2 separate regions of the Homo sapiens genome follow, and region 2 is linked to region 1. Evidence: promoter capture Hi-C in 16 types of primary human blood cells and fetal thymus (Javierre and others, 2016). All regions are on one chromosome and are shown on one strand. The core of a region is centred on a gene start or on the middle of the fragment in contact, and the rest is flanking DNA. Distances in the headings are between cores, read along the strand shown. Region 1 holds the start of DHX37 (DEAH-box helicase 37). Region 2 holds the start of CCDC92 (coiled-coil domain containing 92).

Region 1 (3,714 bases), core at 472-2,971:
GCTCAGGCCCGTAATCTCATCATTTTGAGAGGCCAAGGTGGGCCGATCACTTGATGTCAGGAGTTTGAGACCATCCTGGCCAACATGGTGAGACCCCATCTCTACTAAAAATACAAAAATTAGATGGGCATCTTGGTGGGTGCCTGTAATCCCAGCTACTTGGAAGGCTGAGACAGGAGAATCGCTTGAACCCGAGAGGTGGAGGTTGCAGTGAGCCGAGACTGCTCCACTACACTCCAGCCTGGGCGTCAGAGGGAGAGTTCTGTCTCAAAAAAACAAAAACAAGCAAACAAACAAAAAACCCCATAGATTTGATACGCTAATTATGATTTTTTTAAACGTCATTCATTAAGGCCTTCACAGTGGCTTATGCCTGTAATTCCGGCACTTTGGGAGGCCGAGACAAACGGATCCCTTGAGCCCAGAATTTTGAGACCAGTCTAAGCAACATAGGGAGACACCATCTCTACAAAAAAATAGAAAAATTAGCCCGTCGTGGTGGTGTGTGCCTGTAGTCATAACTACTCAGGAGGCTGAGGTGGGAGGACAGGTCAAGGCTGCAGCGAGTGGTGATTGCACCACTGCACTCTGGCCTGGCCCACAGGGCGAGATCTCATCTCTTAAAAAAAAAAAAAAAAAAGTCGGGCGCGGTGGCTCATGCCTGTAATCCCAGCACTTTGGGAGGCCCAGGCAGGCAGATCACGAGGTCAGGAGTTTGAGACCAGCCTGGCCAACATGGTGAAACTCCGTCTCTACTAAAATACAAAAACTAGCTGGGGGTGGTGGCGGGCACCTGTAGTCCCAGCTACTCGGAAGGCTGAGGCAGGAGAATCGTTTAAACCCGGGAGGCAGAGGTTGCAGTGAGCCGAGATTGCTCCACTACACTCCAGCCTGGGCAACAAAGCCAGACCTTGTCTCAATAATAATAATAATGCATTGTTTCCCAGTGTGTTACAATGTGATGCGGTAATGGGAATTTAAAGTTATGTAATAGACAACTTTATTTTTTTTTTTTTGAGACAGAGTCTAGCTCTGTTGCCCAGGCTGAAGTGCAGTGGTGCAGTCTCGGCTCACTGCAACGTCCACCTCCCGGGTTCAATCAATTCTCTGCCTCAGCCTCCCAAGTAGCTGGGATTACAGACGCCTGCCACCAGGCCTAGCTAAATTTTTTTTGTATTTTTGGTAGAGACGGGGGTTTCACCATCTTGGCCAGGCTGGTCTTGAAATCCTGACCTCGTGATCCGCCCGCCTCGGCCTCCAAAAGTGCTGGGATTACAGGCGTGAGCCACCGCGCCCGTAGAGGCCTCCTTTTAGATCTTCCATCTATCCCTGTGATGGAAATATTTGGTGCCTTTTTAAAAGTACACGACTAATACGTTTCTTGTAGGAATATCAGAAAATACAGATGCGCAAACCAGGGTTGGGGGGAAGAAGTTTGGAGTACTGGGGGCGGGGTATATTTTAAAAGGTGGCAAAACACTTCCACTCCCAAGAAGCCAAATTAGTATCAGTAGATATAATTCATATTTAAACCCAGACTACCCCAAGCGAGAACAGCCCAGGACTTAAACTCCGGCCTCCGCTGGGACCTCAGGCCCCGCCTACTTCTCTAAATAGTCCCGCCCCCTGCCCGGCCCGGCTCCGCCTCTCCTCTTCGCTGGGTTTCTCTTGCAACCCCGCCCCTCAGCGGCAAAGTCAGTTACAGTTCTCGCGATAACACAACCCGGAAGTCTCACGGCCGGAGTTGGTGGTCTGGGAACCCACGTGGGCTGGGTTTCGGATTGCTCTGCTGGTCCGGCCGCTGGAGCGCCCACCCTGGCCTAGTCGCCATGGGGAAGCTGCGCCGGCGCTACAACATCAAGGGGCGCCAGCAGGCGGGCCCCGGACCCTCGAAGGGCCCCCCCGAGCCGCCCCCCGTGCAGCTGGAACTGGAGGGTAAGACATCCCCGGACCGGGGCTGGATTTCGGAGATTTCCCAGGGCGGCCTGTGCCCTGCCTTCAGGACTCTCGGGTGGGGATCCCAGAGGGGTGGGATGGATCATCTGGAATGGGGGAATGGGTCCCCCCATTCCAGATGATCCAAAGGAGAGGGGCTTAGTGACAGCCTAGTTTTAACAGTGTATATGGAATACCCGGGATTTCTCTCGCCCTCAAATAGTAACATGGAGAATTTGGCAAAAAAAACAGGAGTAGTTCCATCCCTTCCCATGACTTCGATTATAATCTCTTTATAATCTCCAGCGACCCCCAAATGTGTATTTTCAGCCCAGTCTTGTCTGCTCAGCTCCAGGCTGGCTGACATTTCTCTCAGACCCCTTTTTAGGAGTAGCCCTTATTACATGCCAGGCACTATTCTAGGCACTGGAGACATAGCAGAAAGGGAGATTTTTAGAAAATCCCTGAGTTTACCTGCTGTATAGGAGGAGACAGGCAAAGAATAAACATATAGAAATTTATGCGGCTATAGTGAGCAGATAAAACAGAAGAGGCCATTGGGTGGGTTGCAGCATCCCATAGAGTTGCTGGAGAAGACATCACTCTGTTAGAGTCAAGATCTGAAGGAGACCTGAGTGGCTGCCTGGAGATGAGAGAAAAAACAGGGGGCCAGGGCAGGTCGGGCCTGGACTGCAGTCTTGGCGAGGACTGGGGCTTTTTCTCTACGGGAGAGGGCAGCCATGGGAGCATTTAGAGCAGAGGAGGCGTGGTGGTGGGCACCTGTAGTCCCAGCTACTTGGGAGGCTGAGGCAGGAGAATGGCTTGAACCCAGGATACGGAGGTTGCAGTGAGCCAAGATCGCACCACTGTACTCTAGCCTGGGTGAGAGAGCGAGACTCCATCTCAAAAAAAAAAAAAAAAAAAAAAAAGTTCCACAGACAGGCTGGGAGTTGAGGCAGATCCCCTAACATCTCTGTGCCTTCGTTTTCACATCTGCAGAATGGGACCAGTAGCACACGTTGAGCAGCCTTAATCCAAAATACTCCAAAATTCAAAAGTTTTTGAGTGTCAACATGACACTTAAGGAAATGCTCATTGGAGCATTCCAGATTTCAAATTTTTAGATTAGGGATGCTCAACCAGTGAATAGAATACAGATGTTCCTAAAGCTAAAACAGGTCTGGTTCCTAGCATTTCTGGAAAGGGATATTTAACCTGTAGTAGCCGTCTTACCTCCTATCAGAGTTTTGGAGATGGTAATTTGGGAAAATATGTTGCTTTGAAAAGTAAAGAAAGGTTACAGAGGTGGGGTGTGTCCCAGGACAGGTGACAACCGTTATGATGGCAGTGACAATTCAGGATGGCACCTCAAAGACAGCCGTAGACACTGGGCTGACACTTGGAACTGGACCACCTGAGCAGAGGGGCTGAGGTCTCTCAGACCCAGAGATTTGGGGAAAGTTGTTTCTCACATCAGAACAGGACATTTCCATGTATCCCTGCCTTTCTCAGGGGCCAGAGGAATCTCATAAGAACATGACTCAGATTACCTTCTTTTATTTATTTATTTATTTGAGATGGAGCCTTGCTCTGTCGCCTAGGCTGGAGTGCAGTGGCGTGATCTCTGCTCACTGCAACCTCCACCTCCCGGGTTCAAGCAGTTCTCGTGCCTCAGCCTCCTGTGTAGCTGGGATTATAGGTGCATGCCATCACACCTGGCTAGTTTTTGTATTTTTTGTAGAGACGGGATTTTGCCATGTTGGCCAGGCTGGTCCCCAA
Region 2 (3,714 bases), core at 382-2,881, 1.0 Mb after region 1:
GAGCCCTCTCTAAATAAGAAGCCAAAATGCCTAAAAACCGTTCCAGCCTGTGAAAACAATAAACTGTAAATATCAGAAAACGTTCCTTGAAGAAGGCAATAGCTCAGAAATCTTTTTTCGGTATCTGGTCTCCTTTGTTGCAATAAGACAGCCCGTAAGCAATCTAGCAACCAGAACAGTTCAGTTCGGAGCAGGCTCCCGGGGAGATTTAGTTGTTAGAGTTCGGCAAGAAAGGTTTCACAAAGGAGCTGAGTTCTGGGGGAAATGAGAGGTGATGTGGCGGAGAGATGGATCCGGACGGGAAAATGTCTGGGAGGGGGTATACGGAGTTCATGAGAAGCCGGGGACAGTGAGAAAACTGCAGTCGAGTCCTGGAAGGGGTGAGAACGCCTGCGGAGGCGGGAGTCAGAGGGAAGTGGACAGCGCCGGCAGCCGGTTTACCTGGGTGAGAATCCGGCCCTTGTTGTGGTCAAACAATGGAGGCGTCCGGCGGCAGCAGCCTTCTGCGCTGGGTGCGCGAGGGGTTCCTCATCACCTGAGCGGGATGCTCGCCTCCTCTGCCGGACGCAGGGCGCCCTGAAAAACACACAGCACCCCATGCAGCCGGCTCCTCCGCAGCCGCCCGGCTCCCCGGTCCCCTGGCGCGGCCATGACCGCCTCTCCCGGGACCCGCCTGGAAGGGCTCCAAGACGCGGCTCCACGGGCGACGAGGGCGGCAGCGCTCCCCCTTCCCTCGGCTCCAACAACAATGGAGCCTGGCTCGGGAGTCCGGCTCCCGAGGGGCCTCGCCCGGCCTCGCCCTGCCCGCTGCCCAGCCCTCGCTCGCACCGGCCGCCATCTGCGCCCCCCGGCCCCGCTCCCCCGCACTGCGGGCCCGCGGCCGACCGCCCGAGGCCCGAGGGGCGGCTTCTCAGCCCGGGACCCGCCAGGCTGCGCGGAGCCGCTCTGACCTTCCCCGCCATCCCGAGGCCCATCCTCCGGGATGGGTTGTTTTTCTTTTCTTTAAGCCACTCCACCTCCTTCCCACCCCCAGCCCGCTCCCTGGCCCCCGGCCCCCGCCTCCCTCCGGGAAAGAAAGAAAGACTGCAGCCCGGCCGCCGAGAACTCACTCCAAGTGAGGGGAGTCAGCGCCCCAGGCCGCGGGCGCCGCGCACCCACCTCCCTCTCCTCAGGGACACCTCACAGGTGCGCCTCCGAGCCGCGCGCGCGCGCGCTCCGCACACCCAGACGCCTCCGGGGGACAGCGCGCGTGCGCACGCACGAGGCCGGGGAAGCCCCGGGGGAGCGGGGGCCGCACGCATGCGCGGCCACCCGGCCCGCGCCCCCACCGCCCGCCTCCGCCCCCGCCCCCCAGCCCCGGCCCGGTCGGGCCCGGCCATCCCCCACCCCAGCGCCCGGCGCGCGCGCTCCCGCTCGCCTCCCTCGCTCCTCCCCGCGCCCCCCCCTCCCTCGGGCCGCGTTACCCAGGGCAACCGCAGTGCGGCCGCACCTGAGCTGTGCGCCTGCGTCCCGCGGGCCCGACCCTCCCTTCCCCTCGGCCTTCGCCCCTGCCCCGCCACAGCCGGGCGGAAGGGGGCGTAGCCCCGCCTCGCCAAGTGAATATCGGCCCGCCGCCCCCGCCCAGCCCGGCAGACACAGGCCCGCCGCCGCGCCGGCGCCTAGCCCGCCGGGTCAGCGCGGCCAGGCCTCGCCGCCGGCCCCGCTCCCAGGGTGCACCGCGGCTAGCGCTGGGGTGGGAGCGGGCGAGATGCGCCGGGCGGGCGGTGCCCACTGACCTCCCTCGGCGGCCCGGCCCGGGCAGCGCCCGAGCCCAGGCAGCCCCGCCCGCCGCGCCCCGCCCAGCCCATGGGCCACGGGCCCCCACCGCCGCCCGCCGGGAGGACCGAGCCTAAGAGGGCAGCCGCCTGAAGGAACGCGACGGCGGCGCCCGCAGGTGAGGCGGGGCCCGGGGTGTGTCGAGTCCGGCCCCGCTCACCTGGCAGCGCCGGCGGGGGCGGAGGGGCCGGGCAGGGGCGGAGGGGCCGGGCAGGGACGGGAGTTCGTGGCGAAGACTTTAAAAACCCTCCCCGCCGGGAGACGGGGGACGGGGTCCTCCTGCCCCACCTCCGGGGCTTGGGAGCCACGTTAGCTCCCCCAGGGGCAGGGGTGGCCCCGGGCGAAGGCAACTCGGGAGACGGCGGAGTCGGGGAAAGAGGGTCCCTGAGGCTCGGCGACCCCCGCGCCCGCCCCCGCGGGGTCTGCCGGCCCTTTCTGGGGAGGGGGCTCCCCGGCCCGGGCTCCAGTCCAGGGTGCGGACCGGCCGCGGCGCGCGCCCACCCCAGTGCCAAGGGGGAGGAGAGGCCGGTCCCGGGGCGCTCCTGTCTGCCCCGGGGTGGGATCGCAGGGCGAGGGATCCGCATTGCAGGTGCACCAGGAGCGCCCCGGGGCCTAGCCCGGCTTTGTCTGGGATGCTGTGGGGAGGAGGCCGTCTGAATCCACATCGCCTTTTTAAATGCTTGTTACCACCCGGGGAACCTTAGAGACCCTCCCTGACAAGTTGTATCGCCTCCCGTCCTGGTAGCCTTTCCGTAAGTACACTACCTTGCCAGCCCCTTCCTGAAGCTTTGATGCGGCTTTAGTTTACTCTGAGTAACGATTTGCCTGTGATTCGTGAAACGGAGCAGAATGCACAAACGCAGCAGAGCTCCAGGCTTGGCTACTGGGCTGCCGTCTGCTACGGCGAGTGAGTTTCTCTAACTTAGGTTTTCATGCTGACCTGTATTGTTTCATTTCAAGTTTTGGTATTTAGCAGTACGATCTAGTCCACTAAGGAAAATTAGGCTGCCAGAGAGAAAATATAACCGCGCTCTGTAGCTTAGGTTGCAGTAGTCGGTTTTATAACAAAATGCAAGCTACCACGCTGTAATACTTTAACATATTACGCAGTTCCAGAAACCTGTAAGAGTATTAAAACTAGGATTGCCATTTTAAAACTTTTACGTTTGAAATTTATTTAAAGAGCATTGGTATTGATAAAACGACTTTTCTTTTTTTTTTTTTTTGCTCATCAAGAATTCCCATGCATTTTCTCGCTATTGCATTGTAAGGAAAAAGATGCTAACGTTTAAAGTGGCTTTTACCTCCAAAGATGTTTTGAAATGTATGTAATTCTTTTGGCTAACTGTTCATCTTATGTGAAATATGCTTGGAAGAAGGCTTTAAAACTCGTGATTATATATACGGGTATGCGTACATATCCATACACACCACTGAAAAATCTTAAAATAGTTTTGTTACTCCTCTGCGTATTATAATTACTCAGTAAATTTAGTTTAGGTACATTTAAGATCTAAAGTACAGGACAATTATTTGTGTGAGATTTTTACTGTGACACATTTTAAATACATCGGTCTAACAAATAGGGTTTTTTTGAAATTAGATATTTTTATTAACTCTTTAAAAAACGAATCATTCATCTTGGGTTTATAACTCTTTCATCTGCCATGTTGGATAAATTGCAAAATTGGATAAATTGATCTCAACTTATCCAATTATCTTTGGATAAATTGATCTCAACATAATTACCTAATTGGTAGGATGCCTTTGCAACGATACTAACGTTAATAAAATGTTGATGCTTTTAAAAAATACTTATGTTAAAAAAGCATTTTCTCGTATTTCTGGCAAGAAAAGTCATGGAACTTTTTTCCTTCTATCTGGAACAAGGTCAGCCAT

What was found. The method cuts DNA at HindIII sites, captures the fragments that hold promoters and counts their contacts. A CHiCAGO score of 5 or more calls a contact.
Region 2: a contact is called between the fragment with the promoter of CCDC92 here and the fragment with the promoter of DHX37 in region 1, in 1 of 17 cell types (total B cells). The highest score is 6.6, in total B cells.

The regions. Positions count from the first base shown.
Region 1 is chr12:124,987,138-124,990,851 of GRCh38, reverse strand. DHX37 (DEAH-box helicase 37) reads left to right here and starts at 1,721. Exons shown (of 27, transcript NM_032656.4): 1 at 1,721-1,935. The coding sequence starts at 1,830. RefSeq lists a silencer at 1,808-2,017 and an enhancer at 3,258-3,714. The HindIII fragment of the contact is 16,586 bases long and covers 1-3,714 here.
Region 2 is chr12:123,970,748-123,974,461 of GRCh38, reverse strand. It overlaps CCDC92 (coiled-coil domain containing 92), which reads left to right and starts at 1,631. Exons shown (of 5, transcript NM_025140.3): 1 at 1,631-1,933. It overlaps ZNF664-RFLNA (ZNF664-RFLNA readthrough), which reads right to left and starts at 1,247. Exons shown (of 5, transcript NM_001347902.2): 1 at 1,159-1,247; 2 at 442-576. ZNF664 (zinc finger protein 664) reads right to left here and starts at 1,247. Exons shown (of 5, transcript NM_152437.3): 1 at 1,110-1,247; 2 at 442-576. RefSeq lists silencers at 679-908, 1,019-1,098, 1,169-2,038, 2,069-2,188 and enhancers at 1,409-2,146, 2,147-2,884. The HindIII fragment of the contact is 3,963 bases long and covers 1-2,603 here.